2 separate regions of the Homo sapiens genome follow, and region 2 is linked to region 1. Evidence: promoter capture Hi-C in 16 types of primary human blood cells and fetal thymus (Javierre and others, 2016). All regions are on one chromosome and are shown on one strand. Each heading gives the region's core, a stretch centred on a gene start or on the middle of the fragment in contact. The rest is flanking DNA. Distances are from core to core; before and after follow the strand shown. Region 1 holds the start of MIR205HG (MIR205 host gene). Region 2 overlaps LOC105372896 (a long non-coding RNA gene).

What was found. Contacts are between HindIII fragments. The CHiCAGO score rates a contact against its expected background, and 5 or more counts as called.
Region 2: a fragment that was not itself captured here is called in contact with the fragment with the promoter of MIR205HG in region 1 in 2 of 17 cell types (M0 macrophages and M1 macrophages); the score reaches 5.1 in M0 macrophages.

Annotation. Positions count from the first base shown.
Region 1 is chr1:209,426,779-209,431,761 of GRCh38, forward strand. MIR205HG (MIR205 host gene) reads left to right here and starts at 2,042. Exons shown (of 4, transcript NR_145437.1): 1 at 2,042-2,310; 2 at 2,403-2,630; 3 at 3,647-3,698. RefSeq lists an enhancer at 1,040-1,963. The HindIII fragment of the contact is 6,862 bases long and covers 1,994-4,983 here.
Region 2 is chr1:209,246,943-209,252,011 of GRCh38, forward strand. The region is part of intron 2 of LOC105372896 (a long non-coding RNA gene); the gene reads right to left. Among named protein-coding and RNA genes, the nearest start is that of LINC01696, 76 kb to the right of the region's middle. The HindIII fragment of the contact is 514 bases long and covers 1,536-2,049 here.

The sequences.
Region 1 (4,983 bases), core at 792-3,291:
CATTCATTCCCTGTCTCGAGACTTCCGGAGCTTCCTGACCTGTGAATGAAATCCACAGGCCCATCACAAGATGGCTGCGCTCTCCAGTCCCCGGCACCCCAGGCTGCTCTGAACATGTGAGAGCTCCTCCCTCAAGGCCTGAATTTTCGCAGGTCTTCATCACACTCAGCCCGCCATCATTTTTTCAGATTCAGTTCCAATATGTCACTCTGTCTGTAGAGCCTTCCCTGAATCTCACAGACAAATGCGGCAGTTCCCTTTGTGGGGGATATTCATCATGTTTTTCCTCATTGGCCTATGTTTTTGCCTCTTCTTGTAGATGTCCATCTAGGCTGGGAGCTCCTAGGGGGTAAACGCAGCCTCTCACTCACCTGGCACAGAGTCGATGCTCATGGAATGATACGTGATGGGGAGAGTGAGTAAGTGAATGAATGAATGAATGCTATTCTGGAAGGAAGAGGGAGAGAGGGAGCAGGGAAAGGTCAGAAGGGGGCCCAGAGTCTTCAGCACACAATGTGGGTGTATCACTGTGGCCAGGAACAATTCGCTTCTCTGCCTGCATTACTTTTTGGGAAATGGGAGAGCTGAGGCTCAGTGTAGGCAAACTGGGTCCAGTCAGCAGGGAAGCCATGAGCTCCACGGTTTAGGGGAGGAGTCCGGTGCTTAAGGAAGCTATCACGTGGAAGATCTCCCTGCCCTCCTCCTATTGGTCTGTATTGGTTTTTCTTCTTCACCAGTGGAGGCTTTTCTTCTCCCAGGAAGAATCCAGAATAGTTCAGACAAGCTTCAGGTCCGCCAGAACCGGGGAAAACAACGTGTAGGGTTTGTTTTAAAGGGCTTTTAAATGGGGTTTGGGAGATCCAGGTAGATTAGAATCTTGACTCTGCACTGGCTGTGCAAGACAGAAATTCACCTTTCAAAACTTCTGTTCCCCAGTCTATGCGGTAAGAAGTTTAGATTAGCTGATTTCTAGGGAGATTTTGGGCAGGCATGATTCAGTTCCATGAAGGGCTGTGGGACAGGACTGCACTAAGAGGTCCTATAGATTGGATTCTTCAGTTCCCTCCCTTCCGCTGGAGAATAGAGGAATCTGCCTTCGCTGCACACTAGATTTACCTGGAGAACAAATGGAAAGCAGGCCAGGATCCTGGGTGAAATGTGGCACATTTGAGGAGACTTCAACTTCCCTTGCCCTCCAGGTGTGCACTTGGAAGGGGGAACGAGGGAGGGGGAAGCTGGCAAGATGGGCCGAGAGATAGGGGAGGGGCAGGAGGCGGAGCCCAAGTTGCGCATGGAAGCGGGGGTGGGGTAAAATAATCAAGTTTATAGACCGCCCTCTTTAAAGTTACTAATGAGCTTGCCTTCTCTTTCCTTAATTTCCCCTCGCAGTGTGGTCTTTTCCCCACCCCCAGACATGAAAGGGAAGCAGGTCACAAAGCCTTTCGGATTATAAAAGAAACACTTGCTTCTCACAAGGGGAGCAGCAGACTTACTCTGTACTAAATGCCAGGATAAGCCTCTGGCTGGGCCTCGACTGTGACCCTCCGGCCTCTTTCTACAGCTCTGCCTGGATGGACTGGCCTATCTCTGCTGGATTCCCGAAGTGCATTGTGTAGAGACAGCAACTCAGGTCAGGCTAAAAGCTCAAGCAAGCAAGCGCGCACACACACGCGCGCACACACACACACACACACACAAACACTCAGCTTCCTTAGGACAAGATAAAATCTTAGCATTCCCCTCTCCCCGATTAGGTAGGTCTCTGGGAGGACTAAGGCTTCAGGTGCAAGGCTCAGATAACCTGCAGTGTCTCTCCAACTCTGGGATGACAAAGACCTCACTTCCCTTTTCTGGTGTTCACACAACAATGAGAAAGTACGGGTAGCCTGCAGAAAGACCTCTCCATTCATGGTCCCCCAGGGGTGTGGGTTCTGAGAGGTGGGACCAGCTGCCAGGCCCTTTCTCCATTGGTTGAGTTCAGCAGGTAACCTGAAGCTTTGCTGAGAGGTGCATAAATAAAGAGTGAAACTAGTACCACCTCCTTGAAATGGGCTGAGTCCCTCTTGCTCACCCTTGACTTGGAAAAACCAGTTTCTCTTTTATTGTCTGTTACTAATCTCTATTCTAAAAATTCAGCTCAATTCTCAACCATACTCCAAACTCTCTCTTTTCCAGCTACCTTTACTCCCTCTCCTTCAATTCCACTTTCCTCTGCTTACTTTTTTTTTTTTTCTGACAGGGTCTCACTTTGTCGCCCGGGCAGGAGTGCAGTGGCTCAATCTTGGGCTCACTGCAGCCTCAACCTCCCAGGTTCAAGCGATTCTCCTGCCTCAGCCCCTCAAGTAGCTGGGACTACAAGCGCACACCACCACGCCTGACTAATTTTTTGTATTTTTTTGTAGAGGCGGGGTTTCACCATGTTGCCCAGACTGGTCTTGAACTCCTGAGCTTAAGCAATCCACCTGCCTCGGCCTCCCAAAGTGTTGGGATCACAGGCGTGAGCCACCGCATCCGGCCTCATGTTCTTTTTCATTAAAGAGAGAAATCAACTATTCAGGACCGGCCCCCACCTTTCCTCAGGAGTCATTTCTGTTCCGCACAGGCCTGCTGAACTGGGTGCTTTATATAGGGTAAGTGTTTCTCATTTTTTGTTCCCTGTCCTCAAGCCTTAGGGGCAAAAGAAACATCCAAGATTTGAAATTTCTTTTCTTCTTCTCATCTGCATGGCTGTAGCCATCTCTCTGTTCTGCATTATCTTATGACAAAAAAAAAAAATTCTTATTTTGAAGCAAACTCAAAGCTAGGTCCTGATGTCTCAAGGCACAGGTACTCGTACTTAAAGGTGAGTCTGAAATCTGTGGATTTGGGGAACTTTGGAAAAACAAAGATGAGTGGCTAGATCAGGGGGCTCATTGGGCAGGAAGAGGAGACTGGAAAATGCCATATTCACTGCAAGTCAATTATCAACTTCCTCCAAGGCTAAAATAGCTGAACCTGCTGCATTTTAAACCAATCCTCAGCCACTTTGGTGTTTTCTCAAGGATTTCCAGGGATCCCAGGCAGTAAATTCTGCTGATAATAGGAATTGGTGTGATAAGGTGGGTGCTGAGCAGTTTAAGCACCAAGATTGTAGCTCTGTCTGGTTTTGTGGAGATTTACTCAACTAGAAGAACAGAGATTTGGCTGGTTTTTCAGTCCTGGGGTGCAGGGTGCACCTGTACTGGAAAATTTAGGACGTGGTTTCATTCTTTGAGTCTCATGTTCAAGTTGGTTTTAATGTTATGAAGACACTTGGGACGTAATCCTGAGGGCAGCTGGGGGGAAGAAAGTGGTCACTGGATGGACTTACCCTGTAGCGAGCCCATGCATGGTTTGTTCTCTGATCGTGCATGTGCTTGGCTCTAGACCCATGTAACCATGGTGAAGGCCACTGGGGGATTCAGTTGGCAAAGGCATAGTGGGCAGAAGAATCTTGAACAAGGAGTCCAGAGCAGGTCAAGTCTCCTGATACAGGTTGTGACTCATGGTTTTTTGTCTCTGCCTGTAGCAGCTACAGGTCTGTAAAGCAAGGGGAGAGTGATAAGGAAAGAACTCACCTTTCTGGGGCTCTCTGACATTAATGCCACCTCCCATTTGCTTTTTGCAGACACTGTCATCTCTCAAGTACCCATCTTGGAGGGTACGGACCCCACATGAGGGTGAGGCTCTCTGCACACTCCAGAGTGAGGACTTTAATAATCTAGTGGACTGTACATGTTGGGAGGGGAAGAGCGGGGTGCCGAGGGTCTGGAGGGAGAAGAATTGACTGCCCCTTTTGCTCTTGGAGTTAAGCAGAAATCTAAAGAGAAGGCAAAGAATCTTGCCTTCCTGGCATCATTTCCTCCTACCATCCCAGGCCATCATTTATTTATTACAGCCAACAGACTGGCCTCTTTCTTCCCTTTGACTGGGAATGGGTCAAAGGCGGTGCAGGAGGAGGATCTGGTCCAGATAATTCACAAGCAGGGTGCATTTTCCTCTCATTATTGAGAACTGTGAGTGTTTATCAAGAAGGCAGAGCAGGAGAAGATGAACCAGTCTTCTTCCCCTCACTACCCAGATCTCTGCCTGCCAACAAGCCCCGTGTTCACCCTGGCAAAGAGTCTTTACATTCAGACCAAGGAGAGTGTGACTCCTTCTCAGCACTAGCTAGAAACCTCAAGCCCTTGCTTAAGGGCCTTTTTCAGAGAGACCCAATGCCCAGAAGGCTAGATGCGTGGGGAGGAGCCACATACGAGAAACTGCCTCCCTGCTTCGGGTCAGAACAAGCCCCAGGAAGAAAGTATTTCAAACAACAAGGTGCATCTGCCCCAACCCATCCAGCCTGCATGTTGGTGCTGAGAACAGCCTTTTATGGGGCTTGCACTGAGCCATGGGCATGTCTGAACACAACAAGGAAGAGGCCAGAGCAGCAACAGCACGCAAAGGGTTGATGGGCATTTCTTTTAAGACAGAGCAGAAAACTCTTAGATACTTTGCGTCCTTCCTATTTGACTCAGTCTATGAAAGCCAGGTTAGCTTGCTTTCTTCCTCCCTAAATCCTCCATCCTCATGACCAACAAAGAAATAGTTGAATCATTTTCCAGGCACATCTTGGGGAGGATGTGGGGCCATTGGAGGCTGTCCTTCCTAGATAAGTCTTTAGGAGTGAGAACAAGGAGTCTTACCCTCCTCTGTCCACCCACCCCCATGAATGGGCCTGGCTCCAGCCAGGAGTTGTGGTTTTTCCTGAGCTCCTCACCTATCTCTTCTGGATTTCACATTGGCAAACGGGGTTGCAAAGTGCTCTTCGTGCTCTTTGGACAGTGCCTTGTGGAGAGGAATGCCCATGCCCCTGCATTCCAAGGCCTTGGTAAGCAAGCTCAGAGTAGCTGGATTTTTCTAAAGCAATTGCAGAACACCTGCTTTTTCTTTGTTTCCTCTAGAAAGGACCAACCACACCGA
Region 2 (5,069 bases), core at 543-3,042, 180 kb before region 1:
GCGCTGGGATTACAGGCATGAGTCACCATGCCTGGCCCTTTTTTAATCCATTTTGACCTCATGCATCCCTTCCAAGAAGAAAAAAGAGGAGAGTTATGCCTATTTTTTCCCCTCTAGGTTTTTTCATTTGTGAAAAAAGTAGAGTAAGTTATTTTGCCAAGATTGCTTGGTAACTGATTGAAAGAAATAACAAATACCTGAGGAAAGTAACAGACACTTACTAATTGCCAAGCACTGTGCAAAGAATTGTATCTGCATCATCTCATTTATGATTATCCCCTTTATAAAGAGGTCACTGAAGCTTCCTAGGACAAACAGGAGGGAGCAGAGCCAGCACTAAAGCCCAGGTGGTCTGACAACAGAGTCCCTCCTGCTTAACCACGCACTACATATAATAAGGAGGCAGCTTTCATTCTTTTATAATTTAGATTTTTTTGGTTGACCTTTTGTACTAGTCTGTGTTCTTCAGAGAAATAGACCAATAGGATATGTATGTGCATGTGTGTAAAATACGTATTATATATATATTATATGTAATATACATTATAATTCTATATATTATGATATACAGCTAATTGTTATTTTATATATATTATATATTCATATGTATAATATATTATATATTCATATATATTACATATTCATATGTATAATATATATTATATATTCATATGTATAATATATATTATATGTTATATATTCATATGTATAATACATATTATATATTGTATATTCATATGTATAGTATATATTACATATAAATAAAATAAGAAATTAGCTCATGCAACTATGGAGGCTAAGTCCCAAGATCTGGAGTGGCAAGCTGCCCCAGGAGAGCCCATGTTGTAAGTTCCAATCCAAATGCCAGCAGCCTCAAGACCCAGGAATAGCCAATGTTTTAGTCTGAATCCAACATCAGGAAACAAATGATGTCCCAGCTCAAAGGCAGTCAGGCAGGCAGGGGGAATTCTCTCTTACTCTAGGCAGGGTCAGCCTTTTTGTTCTATTCAAGCCTTCAACAGATCAGATGGGGCTAGCACACATTAGCAAGGACAATCTGCTTCCCTCAGTCTACCGATTCAAATGTTAATCTCTTTCAGAAACACCTTTACAGACACACTCATAATAATATGTGACCAGGTGTCTAGGCACCCCACAGTCCAGTCAAGTGGACAGATGAAATTAACCATCATATCCATATTGTTCCCTAGAGCTACTTTGATGGATAGGGGCTATGAATTTGTTTGTTCGGATTTTTTTTTTTTTTGGTCTCTTCTCTCTGAATTCCTCTTCTTAGAAAGAAAAGTCACCATGAGCAGACAGAGAAGAAACTCATGCCACCTTCATTTGGCGACCAGTTCCCAGAAGTCGTCTGGCAGAGACCATGTGATCTTCTTTCAGGGCTGTGCCAGGGAGACCCCTCTACTGGATGGGAGCCTAGGCTACAGGGTCAAGAATTGTCCAACTCTGAGAGTCTGTGTACCTTGATAAATTTGCTCTTTCTGTGTCCTTTTCTTCTTATTTTATGTGAAGGAAGCTTCAGAGCTCAGTGATGGTGAGGCATTTGTTTTGGCTATTCAACTTCTTCCCCAAACTGGAAGGGTATTTTTTAAGGGTGTAGTAAAGTGCAGTCTAAGAATACAGCCTTTGTCATTAGTCAGAACCGAAGCTAAATTTCAGCTCTGCCAACTGCTAGGTATGTGAGTGAGTTCCTTAATCTCTGTAATACTCACAGGATTGTTGCAGATCGAAGTGTTAATGTATAAGAAGCAAGCACTTATGATGGTGCCTGCCAGGTGGTTAGCATCAAATAAGTCTTCACTGGTACTGTTATAACAGAAGGCAGGCTCATTTCACCTGTATCAGTCACTGCCTACAGCCAATAATCAGGCCAAGAGGTCCTTTGTTGCCACCTAGTGGCCATTAATTGCACTACACCACATAGCTAAACCTAACTAAATGCAAATACAAATGCAACTTAGGTGTCTAAATGAAAGAAAAGGCAGGGTAAGATTACGTACGAGTGAAACTACCACCTTCACCCTAGGAAGCTTGATTTTTAGCCTTCTGCTGCTTGGTGACAGGAGCTGCCTCCTCAAGAAAGCACTGATGCATGCACAACGAGATGAAGAACATTTTTTGTTATAAATTGGAAAGTTTATTTTATTATTTTTTTAGAATCTATTTACAAGATTAGTAAAATGTATGGAAAGGTGGGTAGAGAGATAAGCATGTGTTCGGATTAAATAGACCACAGGCCAATGCAGCATGGAAGAAAAGACTTCAGTGACGGATTGTCTGGAGCCCACACAGGGGTTTTCAATAAAATCCAGGCCAAAGTGCCTTGGGCACACTGTGTTGAAGGTTTTAGCAAACTCGAGCAGAGAGCAAGCTTCCAACTCACCTCACTTCCTTCCTCCCTTGCTCCCAAGCTCCACAGAGACATCGTTTAGGGAGAAAATAGTTAGGTAGTCTCCTTCCATTTCTCCAAATGTCAAAGTGAAGTCCAACAGAAAGCAATTAACAGATGTCTGCCCAGCAGAGAGTGTGGGAGTACCAGTCAGCAATGAGCACAAGGCATATCTTAGCATATCACAGGGTGGCCCCATTTACTCCCCATTAACCAGCTAAAAATAGCCTCTCTACTTCCTCAGCTTTCTGTCTTTATTAGAATCAGTCCCAACAGTTTAGCTCTTTCCCCCTGAAAGCTTCCTTAAACAAGTGGCAAGTGAGAGAACTAAATGTGGACTCCGCTCAGGTGCAAATTTCCCCAGGGAATTTCTAGCCCCTCCCTGCAGGTAACCCACCACCAACTATTCCTAAAATCTTACCCCAGGCCCCACTCAGCCAGCCCCCATACCAGAGGCAGGATAATAACCAAACTGTCCCTGGAGAGGGACCAGAGTTGGTTGTCGGGGAGAGATTATATGTGGTTAGATAGCAAGATCTTATTTGTGACATTAAATGAGCAAACCATAAAGCATCTAAAATGATTAATTTCTCACTGGCGCTGTCAGTGAGCTGTCATCAACTGACAGTTATGTCATAAGTGTCATTTTTAATGTCACAAGTCTATTCCCCATCAATGTCATTAAACAATTATGTTTGGTTTATAAAAAGAAAGGGGGAGGGAGGGGGGATGCGTGGAAAGCCATATGTAATGCTTAAGCAATTATATACTTTGCTGTTCCTGGATGGCAGTCCCCGCCAACAATTAAATCTTACTTGATTTGTTCATTTAGGAGGCAAATTATCAATTATTTGGAGGCGTCAGCCTGGGTAATTTTTTCCTCTCCACTGGCAGCAGCCACGGTGCCCTGCCAGGATTGATATCAACAGGATGGAGACAGAGCTTTGATAATGAGCCCTCTCAGAGCCTGAGACTGCAGCTCTGCTCTCTCTTTTTTTGTGCTAGGACTGTTGTGTTTTCTTTGTCAGTGTTTGGCATATGGGTGAGACGGCTAATTTTGCGAGCTGTTTAAATGGAGATAGATCTTCTAATAAGTATGCTTCCTCCTCCTTCCTTTTAAACATTTTGGTAAATATAACCTGTTAGGCAGCTCCTCACTTCTTCTCTTCTACCTTGGTTTTTCTTCATGCTAGTTATGCCGGGGCCACATTGCTCAACTCCCACTCCTGCCCCAGGTATCTGCTACGCATCTGTTTCAATGGATATGTTCACCAGAACAGCAATACCAATGACCCTTTCTGATTACTCTGTAGCATCAATGGAGAAACAGATGTATGTGGTGGGGAGGAGTCTAGCCTGGGTGAAGATTTAAGACCAGACTTTGTGAGAATGAAAAAGTGAAAGGCAGGAGGACACTCTTGCATTCTACAAAGGGATCCCTTTCTGCACTAGGGTTTCTGGGGTCAGGCCTAGAAAGAGTAGGTTTCTTTCTAAAGCGTTAAGGAGCAGGCCAGGGAGGGCCTGAAACATTTATTAAAAAAGAGACCCTTATATAGAATGCCGTCTGGGCAATTGTCATTTACACCTTGAGTCCTCATATAGATCTGACCCTTTCCTGGTGGATTCCAGAAACCGGTACATAACTGTACTTGGTTCAGTTTTATGACTTTGGCTTCTTGTTGGCATCTGGGGTGGACATCTGTTGTTTTTGCCTGCCAGCATCTTTGCTCTTCTGTAAAGAAGACTCCTGATTTTCCTGGCGGAATCATTTCTTGCTTACTCTCAGACCATGTACTTTGGGTGTGGTTGGCCCCACTCCAGGCTTCAGGGGTGAACAACTGGCTAAGGCATGATCCATAAAGACATCCTATTCCCCTGGCCACAGTAATTAGTTCAGAGAAGGAACATGGCTCAAATTGATCCAATGGGAGCCCACCTGGAACTTTTCCTGGTACTAGTGAGATGGAGTTTGAGTCTGGAAATGCTGGGGGCTCTCTTGCCACTACAAGCAAAAGTGTGTCTGAAACTGAAGCTAATACAGAGAAGAGCAAAGATGTGTCATTCCAGGTGGCATTGGAACACCAGGTGGCATTGGAGCCTCCAGTGTGCCTGCAGTCAGTGTAATCCTGGGCTTTTTAATGAGATCAACCAATAAACTTCCTTTTCACTTAAGCTTGGTCAAGATAGGTTTCTACCCCTTGTAATCAGGAAAATCCTGACTAATTCAGATTTTCCTTCATTCTCAGTTCTCCGGTTCTTCCTTCTTGCATTTATGGCCAGTTTGTCTGCGAATGTCTGTCTCTATTATTACTCATATAATGGCTTCCATTTTGTTTTATTGTTGTAGCTTCATTTTGGTTGGATAGATTGTCCAAACTCTCTCCCCACCTCCATCTATTGACCTAATGGTGGTGGAGGGTTCTGGATGGGGAATTACCAGCCTGCTAGCTTTTTGAAATCGTATCCTGGCGTTTAGAAGCTTTTTGCACTGGCTGGCTGGATTGAAACCAACTCTTTGAATTTAACACTGAATGTGGCTAAGACACATGTAAATATTACTCAAGAGTCCCTTACAATCTTAGCAATAATTAAATGAAGAAAGATGAAAGGGAGGAAAGAAGGAAGAAGAGGAATGGCAGAGTAGGGCACAGACCCCCAT